Regions from separate parts of the Homo sapiens genome. Here all the other regions are linked to region 2. Evidence: promoter capture Hi-C in human tissues and cell types (Jung and others, 2019). All regions are on one chromosome and are shown on one strand. Each heading gives the region's core, a stretch centred on a gene start or on the middle of the fragment in contact. The rest is flanking DNA. Distances are from core to core; before and after follow the strand shown. Region 1 has its middle 7.9 kb from the start of CTIF. Region 2 holds the start of MBD1 (methyl-CpG binding domain protein 1). Region 3 overlaps DYM (dymeclin).

What was found. The method cuts DNA at HindIII sites, captures the fragments that hold promoters and counts their contacts. A contact is called where the count stands out against the background at its distance.
Region 1: a fragment that was not itself captured here is called in contact with the fragment with the promoter of MBD1 in region 2 in 1 of the 25 tissues and cell types used here (spleen).
Region 3: a contact is called between a fragment that was not itself captured here and the fragment with the promoter of MBD1 in region 2, in 1 of the 25 tissues and cell types used here (dorsolateral prefrontal cortex).

What each region holds. Positions count from the first base shown.
Region 1 is chr18:48,529,824-48,532,523 of GRCh38, reverse strand. No RefSeq gene overlaps it. Among named protein-coding and RNA genes, the nearest start is that of CTIF, 7.9 kb to the left of the region's middle. The HindIII fragment of the contact is 6,431 bases long and covers 1-2,700 here.
Region 2 is chr18:50,280,223-50,282,922 of GRCh38, reverse strand. MBD1 (methyl-CpG binding domain protein 1) reads left to right here and starts at 1,400. Exons shown (of 17, transcript NM_015846.4): 1 at 1,400-1,560. It overlaps CXXC1 (CXXC finger protein 1), which reads left to right. Exons shown (of 15, transcript NM_014593.4): 14 at 1-69; 15 at 184-576. The coding sequence ends at 330. RefSeq lists enhancers at 161-741, 742-1,322 and silencers at 1,468-1,577, 1,588-1,667. The HindIII fragment of the contact is 21,891 bases long and covers 1-2,700 here.
Region 3 is chr18:49,229,800-49,232,558 of GRCh38, reverse strand. All of the region lies in intron 13 of DYM (dymeclin), which reads left to right. Among named protein-coding and RNA genes, the nearest start is that of MIR4744, 180 kb to the right of the region's middle. The HindIII fragment of the contact is 7,681 bases long and covers 1-2,759 here.

The sequences.
Region 1 (2,700 bases), core at 78-2,577, 1.8 Mb after region 2:
TTAAATGATCCTTTATACCCTAGTATTTATTATATATAACGCATTTGTTCAAAGTTGAATATGAATGACCAGCACACACAAAAGTGGGCATTAATTTAGGCTTACAGAACCTCACAGTTTAGTTCAGATGACATACACATTTTAAACAGAAATGGCAGTAAAATATTAAAATCCAAGGTGTGCCATATGTGTAATATAGACAGAGTGATTGTTCAGGGAAAAGGCAACCCTTGTAAGCTAGAGCAGCAGAGAGACATTCAAGGGAGAAGTGGAACCGAGCCAGGCATGAGTGTGATAGGATGGGACCAGGGCTGGAAAGGGGGCTTTCCCAGTGATAGGCAGGCAGGAGCTTAGAAGTGGGAACTCACATCGGGGAGGGGCTGAGCAATGGGGAGGAGGAGGCACGAAGTCCAGAAAGTTAGTTGTGTGTCATTGGTTCAAGACTGGACTCAGGAGGCAGACACCAGGATTTGCATCCTGCCTTCCCCTTTTATCACCACTTGACCTTGGGCAACTCTAAGCTTCCATTTCCTCTACAAAAGAGAGAAATAATAGAACATATCTCAGTAAGTCATTATAAGGCTTAAAGGAGATGATGTATACAAGGCATTTCACACATAGTAAGGACTTATAGTAACACCAGGTTTTATTTTTTGGTTATTATTGTTATTATTTTTGCTGTTACCCAAGTGATAGGCTGTGTGGGACCAGGAACAAAAGTTTTGACCAATTAGGACTTTATTCTATGACTCAAGAGGGTGAGATTAGATTTTGTTTTTCAGTTATAATGCGGGTAGACAGTAGAGTATGGCCCAGACTGTGGGAGCCACTCCCAGCCTGACCCAGACTGTGAGATCCAACACTGGCTTGTGCCCTAATCCCAGTAATCCTCATCCTCATCTTCAGCAGGGCCTCTGAGGGTTCAGTAGAACTTGCAGAATCAGGATCTGTTCTCATGGTTCTTCATGAGCTGTCATTCTGTCCCTTTCTCACATGCAGATCCACTACCCTCACCCCACCTCTTTTTCCGTTTTGGCAAAATTATCAGATTTGTTTATACTCCACTCTTTCCAGAAATGACTCAAGACAGCTTTTTAAATTCTAAAATGTACCTACTAATATATAAAAATAGAAATTTACACAAAAGACACTTTGTAAGATGGTTATCCCTTTTACAAAAGAAGTAGCCATCATTTCTTTAAGTAGCAGCACGTCTGGTACATGCAATGTCAGACCTGATAGACCAAATTTTGCCTCATCAGCAGCTTTCTGGAATGTGTCTTCAGTATCAGTGTGGTTCACAGCATTACTCCCCATTATCACCTTCACAGGAGTCAGCTGATTTTCAGCAAGTCTGGGACTTGAACAAAGGCAAAGGGTGTGTGAAGCCTTTGAATTTATTTTGTGCAGAGCTAGGTGATTGAATGGGATCTGCTCTAGAAAGCACCAAGCTGCCACTTGGTCAGGGAACCCTGCTTGGGAGAGGTGGCAGAGGAGGTTTTCAGAAAAACAAGGGAGGATGCCTATTAGCTTATGTGGACTGGGAGACCACCCAGGGGAAGGGAGCAGTGTAGGGGAAATGCCGGGCTGCTGTGCTCCCTGTGGGGCAGTGGCAGAGGTGGCAAGCCAGCTTGGGACCTCAGATTGCGCCACAGAAGAGAGGAGAGCTGCCTGGTGACAGTTCACCTGTCCTACCCCTAGAAGAAAATTTTGGCTTGACACAGAGATAAGATGTGAAACATTCTCTCTTTGCTATATCCATATATTTCAGGACTTAGCAATCATGCCCTATGCTATAGTGAATATGTCCCAATGCATTATTTAACACATTTCTTTTTAACAAAAAGCATGTGTTGGGAACTTAATCCCTAATGCAACAGCGTTGGGGGGCAGGGCCTACTAGGAGGTGTTTAGGTCATGATGGCTCCACCCCATAATGGATTAATGCTGATTATGAAAGGGCTTCAGTCTGTGAGTTTGATCTCTTGCTCATGTGTGCTGTCTTGTCCTTCCACCTTCCACTATGGGATGACACAGCAAGAAGGTCCTTGCAAGATGTGGGCCCCTATACCTTAGACTTTCAGCCTCCAGAAAGGTAAGAAATACATATCTTCTCTTTATAAATTACCCAGTCTCAGGTATTCTGTTATAGAAGCACAAAATGGACTAAGACAACCTTTCAGTGGGCATGTTGCTGTGGCAACCTTAAAGTCACTGGAGGGCATCTATAATTGGCAGAAAATGGTATGAATTTAGTTACAGGTTTGTTTTTTTTTTTTCTGGGAGGAGTTTTTTAGTCTTAGGCTACTTAAAGTACTCACATGTGATCTTTTTGCCTGAGCAGACTAATAATCACCTCGCAATTTAATTACTAAGCCAGTACCAGTGAACTCTTCTCCTATCAATTGAGTTGTAATTTTTGAATACCAGCTTCTTGGACAGGGCCCATCTCTGGAAGCTGTGGTTACCCAGACACAAATCACAACCAGTGTTATGCTTTGTGAAACCAGTCGACTGTGGAGTCAGCTGGAGGGATCATTGACAAATGCAAGCATGTTCTGAGTGGCTCATCTGTCAGCTATGACAGGCATTCAGTTCTGCTAAAGAGCATTCTGGGTTGGCCACACTGTCACTTCTCCATTCCCTACAATCTTCTACCACTGGATGTGTTCCCATTTCCTAGGTATAGAAAACTCCTAA
Region 2 (2,700 bases), core at 151-2,650:
CAGTGCAATCGCCATTACTGCTGGGAGAAGCTGCGGCGTGCGGAAGTGGACTTGGAGCGCGTGCGTGTGGTAGGTTTCTGTGCGGTTTTGGTGCTGCATGTGGTAGGTTTCCATGTCGGACGTGGCCGGGGCAGGCGGGGCTGCAGGTGTTCCTGCTTAGGACTCCTGCCGCTCCCTTGGCAGTGGTACAAGCTGGACGAGCTGTTTGAGCAGGAGCGCAATGTGCGCACAGCCATGACAAACCGCGCGGGATTGCTGGCCCTGATGCTGCACCAGACGATCCAGCACGATCCCCTCACTACCGACCTGCGCTCCAGTGCCGACCGCTGAGCCTCCTGGCCCGGACCCCTTACACCCTGCATTCCAGATGGGGGAGCCGCCCGGTGCCCGTGTGTCCGTTCCTCCACTCATCTGTTTCTCCGGTTCTCCCTGTGCCCATCCACCGGTTGACCGCCCATCTGCCTTTATCAGAGGGACTGTCCCCGTCGACATGTTCAGTGCCTGGTGGGGCTGCGGAGTCCACTCATCCTTGCCTCCTCTCCCTGGGTTTTGTTAATAAAATTTTGAAGAAACCAAGGAAGCTGTCTCCACATTGCTGCGGTTGCAACTGTTCCAGACTTCTGGATAAGATGGGGGGCGCCTGCACCCCGCGAGAGCCCAGGGACCCACATTCCCAGCCTCCCACGGGCAGAGGGTCTACGCAGCGCGCCTTCAGTGTGGTGACACCGCCCATGCATGCTCCTGTCTCCCACCCAGAGCTGTCGTCCGCTGTGGACGCCAGGCCCCGCCTTTTCCCCACAAGCCCCACGTTGGGGATCCGCCTCCTGCAGGGGCGCGCCCTCCCGCGTGCCTCAGTTTACCTGCGGTGTGGCACCGCCCCTTTCCCCGCCCCGCGCGCTCCCACAGCTGTTCGGCGGGGAGGAGGGAGCGGGACACGACCCCCCCTGGGGTTGATGTTCGGAGGGACCCACGAACACAGGATAGACCCCAGCGAGAGGTGGGAGAGGAGAGCGCCGGCAGGGCCAGGGAGTGCGCAGGCGCGAAGCAGCTTCCTTGCCGCGTTCGGTATCGGCTGTGGAGACCGCGGGAGGGAAGGGAGGGCGCAGGCGCAAGCCCTCCCCGACCGCTTCCCTTCAGGTTGAGGCTGGAAAGCGCATGCGCCAGCTAGATGGGCAGCGAGGAGAGCCGCAACTGCCAGTCCCTCGAAGGGGTTAGCTGTCGTTGAACGTCAGCACGCAGATGCAACTGGCTCTCGGCAGGGGGGCGCGCGCACCGCTGCGGAGCGCCGGCCCGTAGGCGCGGGAGCCTCCCTATTAAGGGCACGCGACATCGAGGCAATAGTGCGCAGGTGCTTAGCCAGAGGCGGAGCCCGAGAGGCAGGCAGCGGACTTCCGGTTCCGGGAGCAACGAACAGCCGCGGAGGCGACAGCTACCGCTTCAGAGGAGGCGGCCGCGGAGGAGGAGGAAGGGGAGGAGGGCGAGGCGGGAGGTGCAGGAGGGACCCTCGCCATGGGTCCACGGGCCTAGAGTGGCGGAAGATACCGGCCTGGTGCCAAACTGGTGAGACAGCCTTGGGGCTGGACGTGGAGAGCGCTCAGGCGGAGGATGGGAAGGAATTGTGGCTCAGAACGCTGACGGGGAGGAATGAAGGGCCCTCAGGCCGATAAGGGGGAGGAATGGCGGCGTCGGAATACTGACGAGGAGAAATGGGGGGATTTAGGCTGAGGACGGGAAGGAATGCAGCTCTGAACTCTGACAGGTAGGAGTGTCGGGATCCTGGGACGAGGACGGAGAGGAATGGTGGAGATCAGAACGCTAAAGGGAGACATCGGGGCATCTGAAGTTGAGAGAGAAATGGGGGTTCAGAACTCTGAGAGGGAGAAATGAGGGGCCCTCAGGCTGATGACAGGAGAAATAGAGGCTTTGGAATGCTGAAAGGGAGGAATAGGAGGCCCCATATAGAGGACGAGGAGCAGTAGGGGATCAGAATGGTGACAGTTAGGGATGGCATGATCCCGGGACAAGAACAGAGAGAATGGAGGAGGGTTCGGAATGCTGAGGGGAGAAATTAGGGTCTCTCTGGATGATAAGGGAGGAATGGAGGATGAGAACAGTAAGGAGGAGAAGTGGGGAACTTTTTGGCTGTAGAGGAAGGTTTGGGAGCTCAGACTAGGGAGAAATTGTGGGTGAGAACATTGAAGGAGAAGAAAAATAAGGGGGGAGGTCTTGGGCTGAGGAAGGGGAGGCATGGGAGGCTTCCAGTGTGAGGAATGGAAAAGATGAGGGGCTGTTCAGGCTATGGGTTGGAGCAGTTGTGTCTCGCAGAGGAAGTCGAGGTTGTAACACTGAGGTAGCAGGATAAGAGGACATCAGGCAGAGAAGGAATGGAGTGGTTAAAACACTGAAGGAGGGAAATTAGGAACTCCTGGGTCAAGGAAGGGGGGAATGAGAGACTACTGAAGTCAAGTAGTGAGGGCAAGAGAAATGGGGCCCTTTGGGGCTGAGGATGGGGACTATGGGGGTCTTGGGGTGATAAAATAGAGGGATAGAGGCCCTTAGGTCAGTGACAGGGAGGAATGAGGGGGAAGGATGAAAAGTTTCTGGATTGGCAGTGAGGAGAAATGATGGGTTGTCAGTCTGAGGATAGAGAGGAGTAGGGGATTAGGACACTGAGAATAAGAAACAGGGATCCTTGGGTTG
Region 3 (2,759 bases), core at 52-2,551, 1.1 Mb after region 2:
GGCCGAGGCGAGCAGATCACGAGGTCAGGAGATTGAAACCATCCTGGCTAACACGGTGAAACCCCATCTCTACTAAAAATACAAAAAATTAGCCAGGTGTGGTGGTGGGTGCCTGTAGTCCTAGCTACTCGGGAGGCTGAGGCAGGAGAATGGCATGAACCCACGTGGATCTTGCAGTGAGCCGAGATCGCGCCACTGCACTCCAGCCTGGGTGACAGAGTGAGACCCCTTCTCAAAAAGAAAAAAAAAAAAGAAAAAATCAAAAAAGAAGAAATTCTGTTTCAATCAAGTAGAATTTCCGTATGGCCAGCTAATACAGAAAGTGATAAATTGTGCAAAGTATATGAATATGGAAAGTGGGGGGAGCAAATAGTTCCAAACTAGGATAAAGCAGAATACTTCATAACGTACCTGTCTTTCAAACAAGATCTTATCGGATGAATAGTATTTCAGTAGGTAAAAGGCAGGGGAACATGAAAATCACATGTGTAATTTAGAAACATCAACAGATGGCAAGAAAAAGAATTTTGGAAGGTATATATAACTGAATATTATTATAAAGGAATTACATGTTTTAAAATTTTTTATCTATGAATACTAAGTTTTCTTGTCTCCAACCTGTGTTCCTTTTCTTGCCTGCAGAAGTAAAATCAGATACAGACGTTGCAGTTTTAAGAGTCATGTTGATGTGACCCTCTTCAAGGCTAGTTAGTACTTACAGTTTGTATTTAGAGGAATCTTTGACTAAGATTCCTCTGGTGACTTTTTAGCTCCAGATGTGCTAGTACACTACGAAGCATTGTAACAGCTGTTTATTTCATTAGAGTTGGATCTAGACTGCCACTACCTCAGAGGAACCAGATACAAGTAGATCCACTCCACTTTATTTGACAAAGGAAACATGCTGATCCTAATAACCAAAAGGAATGTGGCAACTCGTTCATGTATTTCAGTATCTTTCACATAGGACAGTGTAACTGTGACCTGCATTTTCACTTGGGAAAGAGTCCTGGGAAAGACCTAAGAGAACTTAAGCTGTTCAGCAGTGGCTGCATACCTTTGGAGGCACCATCAGAGAGATGGATGGAAAATTGGGTAAAGGGAGGTCTACCCCCAAATCCAAGATTCTGTGATTCTGATACCTTTTACTTTAAAGCAATCATTTTCAGGTTCTGTGTTTTGTTCTCGTACTCTAGATCTCGTGCTTTCTTTGCTGGTGTCAACATGAGCAGCCACCAGCTGCTCTGGGATACCCACTCTACTCCTCCCAGAGCAGCTCCCCTCTGCTTTGATCTGTTTACACGTTGCCATTTCACATCAGCTTTCATTGGAAGAAAGGGTTCCATTGCTTTAAATATATGCATACATAAGCGCATACATATATGAATAAATAAGTTGAAAATTAGAAAACCCTTTTTAAAGGATGGAGTAATGAGGTTGATCTTAAGGTTCTTTGAACTTCTCAAAAGGCAGTGTAGTAGTCTAAGCTAATATATCTATCTAAAAGATGAATATTGTGCATTAGAAAAATAGTATTCTTTTAGTGACATTCATGAAGTCATTTTTTAAATAAATAATGGACCCATTTGATTATTTAAGCTCTATGTGCATTTTAAAGTATATTCATCGTGTAGAAATACTCTTTTTTGCCTTTTACTTATTTCTACATATAGGTTATTGAGTTTTTCTGCATGGTTCTGTATCTCTTTTGTTCTCTGCCCTCTGCAGAATTTTATCTGATAGTAGATAGAATGTGGATTCTTAAGGAGAAAATCTGTTTTATTAATTATAAGGCGTATGTCTCAGACTACCAAACCAAGTATACTGAGTGTTTTGAATTAAATATTTAGTGCTTCATTGACTATTTCCTCTGACTTCCATTAAGACCTTGAGAAATAACTCTTCTCTAATAAGCCTTTTGTTTGTTTGGGGCCAATATACAGATTGATGTGGAATGAACCATTGCTGTAGTATTTAGGGTGTGGTAAGCTTTTCTCAGGAACTTATCTCATTTCAGTATAGCTCATTTTTGGTAGGATATTAACAAGTCTCTGTCATGGCAGGAAACACTTGGTTTTGTTCCCAGATGTCTGATAGTAGTTCTTTTTTGAGGTAGTAAGATTTTTTTGGATGCTAGCATGGGAAAGACATGTGAAAAGTGTAGAGAGATTATAAGGGGCTTGATATCAAAGGTTTTTAAAGACAAATGGTCTGTGCTTGAACAGGACATTAGAATTGAGCTTAAAATCTATAACCTAATTTTCTTCTTCCCTTGAATACAGTTGGTATATTCGACCAGCATAGGCTACTGCTTCACCTTAGTGACTGTTGTTTTTAATTTGTTAGGACACTAAAAAATGTATTACATGTAGAAAATTTCCCTTTTAGTAAATAGTTCTTTGAGTTGACAAACACATATAGTCATGTATTTACCACCATAGTGAAGATAATATGTTCATCTCCCTAAAGATTCCGCTGTGCTGCTCTGTAGTCAAACCATTCTTACTACCCAAGCCCCCTTCTGTTATTTAGTTTTCCTTTGCCACTTTGTCATAAATCTTATCATATGGTATTTAGTCTTTTGAGACTGGAGATTTATCCATGTTCTTGTGTGTATCATTCGTTTTTATTACTGAGCAAGTATTTTATTCTATGGATACCACAGTTTATCCATTCACTGATTGAAGGACATTTGGATGTTTTCATTTTGGGGCAATTATGTATGAAGCTGCCATAAATATTTGTGTAGAGAATTTTGT